Regions from separate parts of the Homo sapiens genome. Here regions 2 and 3 are each linked to region 1. Evidence: promoter capture Hi-C in 16 types of primary human blood cells and fetal thymus (Javierre and others, 2016). All regions are on one chromosome and are shown on one strand. The core of a region is centred on a gene start or on the middle of the fragment in contact, and the rest is flanking DNA. Distances in the headings are between cores, read along the strand shown.

What was found. The method cuts DNA at HindIII sites, captures the fragments that hold promoters and counts their contacts. A CHiCAGO score of 5 or more calls a contact.
Region 2: a fragment that was not itself captured here is called in contact with the fragment with the promoter of IVNS1ABP in region 1 in 1 of 17 cell types (activated CD4 T cells); the score reaches 5.3 in activated CD4 T cells.
Region 3: a fragment that was not itself captured here is called in contact with the fragment with the promoter of IVNS1ABP in region 1 in 2 of 17 cell types (activated CD4 T cells and total CD4 T cells); the score reaches 5.7 in activated CD4 T cells.

What each region holds. Positions count from the first base shown.
Region 1 is chr1:185,315,859-185,318,558 of GRCh38, forward strand. It overlaps IVNS1ABP (influenza virus NS1A binding protein), which reads right to left and starts at 1,385. Exons shown (of 15, transcript NM_006469.5): 1 at 1,095-1,385. It overlaps CBSLR (CBS mRNA stabilizing lncRNA), which reads left to right and starts at 1,594. Exons shown (of 4, transcript XR_007066771.1): 1 at 1,594-2,419. RefSeq lists enhancers at 711-1,324, 1,974-2,073, 2,324-2,403 and silencers at 814-873, 1,334-1,643. The HindIII fragment of the contact is 11,176 bases long and covers 1-2,700 here.
Region 2 is chr1:186,287,239-186,289,938 of GRCh38, forward strand. No RefSeq gene overlaps it. Among named protein-coding and RNA genes, the nearest start is that of PRG4, 7.7 kb to the right of the region's middle. The HindIII fragment of the contact is 1,742 bases long and covers 579-2,320 here.
Region 3 is chr1:186,311,909-186,314,780 of GRCh38, forward strand. PRG4 (proteoglycan 4) reads left to right here. Exons shown (of 13, transcript NM_005807.6): 11 at 267-464; 12 at 861-986; 13 at 1,773-2,659. The coding sequence ends at 1,870. It overlaps TPR (translocated promoter region, nuclear basket protein), which reads right to left. Exons shown (of 51, transcript NM_003292.3): 50 at 2,721-2,816; 51 at 1-2,118. The coding sequence ends at 2,063. It also overlaps the pseudogene RNU6-1240P. Among named protein-coding and RNA genes, the nearest start is that of PRG4, 17 kb to the left of the region's middle. The HindIII fragment of the contact is 1,796 bases long and covers 578-2,373 here.

The DNA of each region.
Region 1 (2,700 bases), core at 135-2,634:
GACACACTCAACGAACAGCTTGATGCCAAGGTGTTCTAACGCTCCATCACTGCACGCTCCATCACAAAAATGCGCCCTTTTGGACATCTGATTTCTCCTTGAAATGTCAGCTGTCTCAAACCAATAGATATGTCCACTACCTATTGGGGGAAAAAGTAAATGTAGTTCTCAAGTAGTGGTTCAAGTTACCCTAGGTTCAACCCTCAGCCTGATACCTTCCTATCATCAAGAGCTTATAATCAGAGACACTTAACCAAAAGCGTGGAGGGACGGAAAAAGAGCAAATCTTGCCACTGATTTCTTTCATAAAAAAGAAAGAGCGTCCCAGGCCTTCCTCCTCGCGCAGCCAGGCCGGCGCCCACTCCGCAGGCTGCGAGGCGAGGCCCCCAGCACCCGCACACCCCCGCCCCGGATTGGCCAGCCCCGCAGTCACTCAGTACCGACACGTCAGGGCAGCCGCTCCCTCCCTCCTCCCGCCCCCTTCTCCCCGCGCTTGGCAAGAAAAGCGGGCAACGTGGAGCGGGAACAAAGGACCCCGCGGCCCACGGCGATCGGGGACTCCGTGCCACCCTACTCCAGGCCCGGGGCTGGCTGCCCGCCCACACGAGCCGAGTCTCGAGAGCTCTTCCAGAAGAGAATCCCAAACCCCAGGCAAACCCGAGGCGAGGCGTCCGTTCCTGACAGCAAGAACGGGGAGTCCCGCGCCCTCCTTCCGGCGGGTCATCCCCGCCCGCGGCGCCCTAACCCAGGCCCCCCAAAACCCTTCGAACAAAAAACTCTTGTTCCTCCCAGCCTGCCTCACCCGCGCCAGTGTAGCAAAGGGGCTCCAGCCTCCGCGCTCTCCGAGGCGACCGGCGCCCGCTCTCGGCCGCCAACGCAACTTGGCAACCATGGCAGCGCTGGAGCGCGGGCCCAGCGCGGCGCGGGCTTCACGTCCCAGAGGGCGGCGGCGGCCGCTTGGGGCTGCCTCCCCTGATGAGGACACCGCTTCCGCGCCTCCCACCCTCTTCCCATCCGCCGGCGCCATCCCTTCTTCTCGGATTCTAGCCGCGCCGTCTCCCTCATCTGTCGTTCGTAGAACCAGCGCGTATTACCTGGTTCATCTCTGAAGAGATGGAAACATTCATTTCTAGAGCTTCGATGGGAAGCAGGAGGAAGCGGGCGGGAATCGGCCCAACGGAAAGCGCCAGAAGGCGGCGGAAGACGGGAGCGGTCAAGTAGAAGGACGAGGGGCCAGTCCGTGGAGACTGAAAGGAAGGGGGAGCGCCACCGAGAACTCGCGGGAACTCGCTCGCTCGCCGATACAGCCGCGCCGAAGCAGCAGGCGGAGAAACTGCGCCCAGCAGCTCTGAGCGACCGACCTCCACGCGCGACCGGGAGACACTGCCTCCGCCGCCGCCGACCGCTCGCGCCGCACCCCCTCGCACGTCACCACGTGCGCTGCCGCCGCCGACGCCTCCCAGCCCGCTTCCGTCTCGAATCCATCTGCAAATCACAGGCGAGCTCCATAAAGATCCCACTCTAAGCCCCGCCCCACCCGCGGCCCCGCCCACATCCCGCCCCGCCTTCCTCCCTGGTCTACTGGGGTTCCTTCCTTCTCGGTGTAACTAGGTCAGCGCAAGGTGATCCTGAGGAGATAGGCGGCGCTCGGGGGGCGCCCTCGTTCCTCTTATCGCGCCTTTGTCCCTCCCTCCGTTCCTTGCCCCGCACCCTCACTTTCGCCGCCCTGTGCGTTGCCTGTCCCGGAACTGGTTCCCTCAAGCCGCCCTCACCTGTTCTGACTTCCCCTCGAGGCACAATAGCCTGAGAGATCAGACGTGGGAGATTAGATTGCTCGGCGTCAGACCTACTTCTAGGCAACCCCCCCTAGACTGGAGCTGCTCGTCGTGGACATTAGGATCTAGTTGGGCATGAGCCCTTAACTTAAGGGTCGGGGGGGAAGTGGCGGGTGCGGAGAGGAGGCGTGGAGAGTGTGAGGAAGAAGAGAGGCACTCTGAGAAGAAGTCGAACAACTAACCCCTCATTTGGCCTGGTTTGGGTGAGAAGATTGAGTCACTTGGGGAAAAAAATATTGGAGAAGTCAGAGAAGGTGTAAATCAGTGGTGCCACAAACACCAGTTTACTTCCACTTTTCACCCCCCGGGTCTGTTTTGTCTGCGTGCAGCTCTCCTCGTGTCGGAGACGCTGAGTCAGTTCTCTACTGGTCTTGCCCTCTTCCGGAAAAAGAAAACACACCTGAGAAGTGGTAGTTCCTATCCTAACCTACTGGGGCCCTTTATACCAGGTGCCAAACTTCATTATCCACCCCACCACCTTGCCCGGGAGGGAGATCTGTGAAAGCGAAACGTGATTTAAGCTGGGATCTGGCAGCAACTTCGTGGACTCTGAAGGGCACGTGGGAAAGGAGTTTTGATTGAAGGTGAGGGATTTAGTGAGGTAAAATTATATCCAAATTAGAGTTTGGTAAAGGCTTCCAGGTTAATGTCCTGTTAACGCTTATCCTGATTTGTGGAGGACACTTAAGCTGTCTAGGCCTAACCTTGTGTTTGATCACTCACCTTAATTTGTAGACATTCTAGGAGCTCTTTGTCAATGCCTCTTACCATTTTTATCATTAACTATTTATGCTTATAGAAGCAGGAAAAATAAATTGTGGGAGCCTTCATCTGCAATAGGTTTACAACTTTTTTTCTAAAATCT
Region 2 (2,700 bases), core at 200-2,699, 970 kb after region 1:
CTTTCCTATATTTTAAAACTTTCACTTGCTGTTAGAATTGTTTTCTTTATATTATGCCTAAATATTGCTTTATTCAATGACAAAGCAAAATATAAGCAAAAAACCAAATGCTATCTCTCCTGTCCTTAGATACCTCAACCCAGCATTCTAGAATTGCCTCATGGGACAGACCAAGAATCAGCCCAGACAGATTGCACCTGACAGAGGCCCTGGAGAGATGGCAGGGATCTGCCCCATAGGCCTCCGTGTCAGTTTCCCAGTCAGAGATGTTCTGTCAACTGTCAAACATTTTGATTACCTCCGGTTATTCCTTAATTTATTAGGGACACTTATACTTTCAGCCCATACCCTCCTTGTGACTGTCAGCCTCTGAAAGCAGCTCTGACAATATTCCTGTTTCTATATTTTACACATAAGATGTAATGTCATTATTTAGTATCCTTAGCGATAAAGGATTAGAGTCACCCATATGTAGTTTCTAGTTTTGCCCAGTGTCAATCATGACCCAATATGCATATAGCAAAAAGAATCTTCTTTTTAATTTCTATAACCACCATAACAAAGCCATTGAAATCAAAAGCTTTTGTAAATTTATAGGATTTACTAAAGATTGTGTAAAGAACAGGGAAAGGAGTTATATTTCACACCACACAGCACATATCTTAATAAATCTCCATTGCTGTTTACCTAAGTTCCCTCTTCAGGCTTACCATCATTCTATCCAAGATCCCTTCCTCCCTCTCTCTCCTTTCCTTCCAGCCCACCACTCCCTCCCTCTGCTTCCTGCTACCTTTCTTTATTGTGCAGAATCTCTGGGTGCTGGCCACCTTCTACTTAACTGAGAAATTATTAAAATCTTGTTTCACTAAAATCAGTCTTTCTCTTGAAAGGCAAGATGAGGGCAAAATGAATTGTTGCTTTCAAAAAAATAACATTTTATCTAGATCATTACATTGCGTAATACATAGTTTCTTTACTTTCCTGTGTTAAACTAATTTTTTAGATCCAAAAGCAGAACCACAAAGTAGTTCAATTGATTTCCAAAACACCTTAGACAATCCCAATTATAGTCTTACATCAATATAAATTACTCTACTTTTTTCCTTTCTGACATTCCTGCCTGCCTCTACCAGGTATAAGATAGTTGGTTATGTGCAAGCTGTGTCATCTATTTACATCACGACTTATTTTTTTTGGCCTTTCATTTATCTTCTCCTTAAGGCCTCCACATTCCTCTTCTGCAAGAAGCATGGAAGAGATAAAGGGTGTTGGGAAAAAAATTAGTTTTTGGCTACTCTCCTAAACTTTGACCTCCTGTGTTCTTCTGCTAGCATTCATATCTATAGCAATGTGCTTTAAGATTAAAAAAACAAACTAGAGGGCCAGGTGCGGTGAACCCACGCCTGTGATCCCAGCACTTTGGGAGGCCTAGACGGGCGAATCACGAGGTCTCCTGACCATCCCGGATAACACGGTGAAACCCTGTCTCTACTAAAAATACAAAAAATTAGCCGGGCGTGGTGGCGGGCGCCTGTAGTCCCAGCTACTCGGGAGGCTGAGGCAGGAGAATGGCTTGAACCCGGGAGGCGGAGCTTGCAGTGAGCCGAGATGGCGCCACTGCTCTCCAGCCTGGGAGACAGAGCGAGACTCTGTCTCGAAAAAAAAAAAAAAAAACAGAAAAAACGATCAAAGTAAAGAGCAGTTCCTGTTTTCAGTGCTTTGGCGGGCTGATCATAACTTTTCTCAGTTCTGAGAAGTCATTTGTTTCCCAGCACTGTTTCTTACCTTGCTGGGTTTTTCAGCCTACACAGGCCACATCCATCAGTTCAGTCTCGTGCCTATTAATGCATGCTGTCCCAAAGAAGAAGCAGTATGTGTCTCTAAGCACCAAATTCATTTTTAGGAGAAAAAGAATTTTTAATGGCAATCCTACAGTTTCATTAAATTCAATCTGATATATTATCAAACACTTATGTGCCAAGTCCTCTACTAAGTGCTGGGGATACAACATATCCTTGCCTTTGATGAATTTACAATCTAAACTGCAAGATAATTTGTTGATATTTATCAAGAATTATGAAGATGTTCCCACTCCTAAGAATTTATTTTAAAGGTAAAATACAATACAAGCTGCATGAAAAAAAGGAATTTATCCTTATTTTTATTTTGTTTATGTTTGTTTTGCTTTAATCAGAATAAATGTCTGGCACCTAGCTGATACTTAATAAATGTTGATGGTTTGTGGAGGTGTTGTCCAAAGCCTGGTATAGGACTCCTCAAGGCATAGCTGTGACTCTGAGTTTGCCTCTGTAAAGAACAAAGCTTTCTACTATATTACTCTGAGGAGGACTTGGAGGAACAAAGGGTCTGGTCTCTATCAGTGCCCCTCCCATAAATATTTTCTTTGCACAAACAGCAGAATACAAATAAAAGGATAAATAGGTAGCCGTTTATGCTGTGTCTGCTCTCCATCCCCTCAAGAATCTTGAGGTCTAAGTTACACATACAATGAACCCAAGTGCTTGTCAATACCAAAGCCCTTTTCCCCAGTCCAAGGGACAGGCAGAGCAAGTGCTAATATTAGCAGTGACATTTATTCGTTAATTCATTCAAGAACATTTATTGAGCTACCAGAGATATAGAGATACTCTGGAGTCTTGTTTCATAAGCAATCAACCAAAAGAAAGGAGGAAATGTTGA
Region 3 (2,872 bases), core at 226-2,725, 1.0 Mb after region 1:
TGTGCTGCCAAACTGAGCACTTGTCACTTTCAATTGAAATTAAATATATAACTATGTAATTTGCTGCATCTATTCATTCAACAAGTATTTCAGTTTAATAATTATTTTTATAATACCCTTGACTAATAGCCATTATTAATATCAATATATTATATGAAAAATGAGAACAAAACTGTTTCCTATACATTGTAAAAGTTGTTTTCCACCTTTTCTGAGGGTATTAAAATTAATTTTCATTTTCCATGTGATATTCTAATACATAACAGGTGGCAGCATTCAGCAGTATATTTATAAACAGGAACCTGTACAGAAGTGCCCTGGAAGAAGGCCTGCTCTAAATTATCCAGTGTATGGAGAAACGACACAGGTTAGGAGACGTCGCTTTGAACGTGCTATAGGACCTTCTCAAACACACACCATCAGAATTCAATATTCACCTGCCAGACTGGCTTATCAAGACAAAGGTAACATTTTTATTGTGTTAAAAAAATCCTTAAACATAAGTAGATGTAATACAGTTTCTTATACAGTAAGGCTTATGAAATATGGATACTGATCAAACAGCCCTAATAATTTAAGCTTACTGATGAAAAACTCATCCACTTGCCTTAGTGAATAACCAAAGACCAATACTTTCTTTTTCCTTGTGGGTAAGTAAAGCAGTTTGTTCAGGTTTGTTAGTTATAACCAATACTATTTATCAAGTACTTCTTACCAAGAACATTATATACCAGTCTATAACCCTCAATAGTTCTACATCAGAGGGCTAAAACTGAGATTAAAACTCAGATGTCTGGCTCTTTCCAAGATAGTACATTGCCTTTTAATCTGGTATCTTTTATTAAACATGCCACTTACAGGTGTCCTTCATAATGAAGTTAAAGTGAGTATACTGTGGAGAGGACTTCCAAATGTGGTTACCTCAGCTATATCACTGCCCAACATCAGAAAACCTGACGGCTATGATTACTATGCCTTTTCTAAAGGTAAGGTATTAACTAACAGTTTCCCAAGGAGGTGATATCATTTGTGAAAACATGAAGATAAAGTAAAAATGCTGGCTGCAATGATGACTGAATGTGAGAAGTTACACTACGGTACTTATTCTAATTGCTGTGGAAAAGAGTTAAGACTTTTGCTTTAATTTCAATTAAAATGATGGCACTGCAATTCAATTCTGCTCTAACCTTCATGAGATTACGATAAAACATCCAGTTACTAGAGTAAACTTGCTACTGACAATAGTATTTTACTTCTATCATTTGTGGCATTTAACAGATACCTTGTTTGGCACAAGGTTATAATGATTTGCATCACTGCAGAGTCTGTAAGATCAGAAAGAAGTTCCTGAGAAACTAATTTTATTAATTAAATTATATTACTCAGGATGCTTTTCTTTGAAATGCCCAGAAATCTAAGTTATTCTGCCTGTAATTTCATAATATGAATGACATTGGCATGTATTTTTTAAAAGGAATAACCCCAAGTAAATTATTTTTCAAACTTGGTTACTCTTTAATGTTTACTTCATAAAGGAGAGCTGAACCTGATTTTACAAAAAGATGGTGAAATGTCAATCTTTTGAAACATCAAAAAAGCTGAAAAGTCTAGGCAATTGTTTTTCTTTTTGTTATAAAGTTCAAATTAATTAGTAAAAACATCTCTATTAAAATGATAAACATTGTCTTTGAGCATAATAGTCAACATAAGTTATTTTTTAGTTTGGGCATTGTTTTCTTTTTAACTAAAAAAATGTTTTCTCTTCCATTTAGATCAATACTATAACATTGATGTGCCTAGTAGAACAGCAAGAGCAATTACTACTCGTTCTGGGCAGACCTTATCCAAAGTCTGGTACAACTGTCCTTAGACTGATGAGCAAAGGAGGAGTCAACTAATGAAGAAATGAATAATAAATTTTGACACTGAAAAACATTTTATTAATAAAGAATATTGACATGAGTATACCAGTTTATATATAAAAATGTTTTTAAACTTGACAATCATTACACTAAAACAGATTTGATAATCTTATTCACAGTTGTTATTGTTTACAGACCATTTAATTAATATTTCCTCTGTTTATTCCTCCTCTCCCTCCCATTGCATGGCTCACACCTGTAAAAGAAAAAAGAATCAAATTGAATATATCTTTTAAGAATTCAAAACTAGTGTATTCACTTACCCTAGTTCATTATAAAAAATATCTAGGCATTGTGGATATAAAACTGTTGGGTATTCTACAACTTCAATGGAAATTATTACAAGCAGATTAATCCCTCTTTTTGTGACACAAGTACAATCTAAAAGTTATATTGGAAAACATGGAAATATTAAAATTTTACACTTTTACTAGCTAAAACATAATCACAAAGCTTTATCGTGTTGTATAAAAAAATTAACAATATAATGGCAATAGGTAGAGATACAACAAATGAATATAACACTATAACACTTCATATTTTCCAAATCTTAATTTGGATTTAAGGAAGAAATCAATAAATATAAAATATAAGCACATATTTATTATATATCTAAGGTATACAAATCTGTCTACATGAAGTTTACAGATTGGTAAATATCACCTGCTCAACATGTAATTATTTAATAAAACTTTGGAACATTAAAAAAATAAATTGGAGGCTTAAGGATTAGAAAACTTGTTCCATTTATTACTATTCCACATTCTATCATGTAATCCAGTTATGTCAGAAATTCACCTCTCTGTCTGTTAAACTGACGACCACGGACACCTTGTCTCAATGTTGTCTGAAGTCTTACTCGTCTGAAAGGCTTTGGTTGACTACTACTAGTATCTAAGAAAAACATTAAGATAAAAGAAAAGCAAGTGAAAAAATGAGAAAGCATTTAT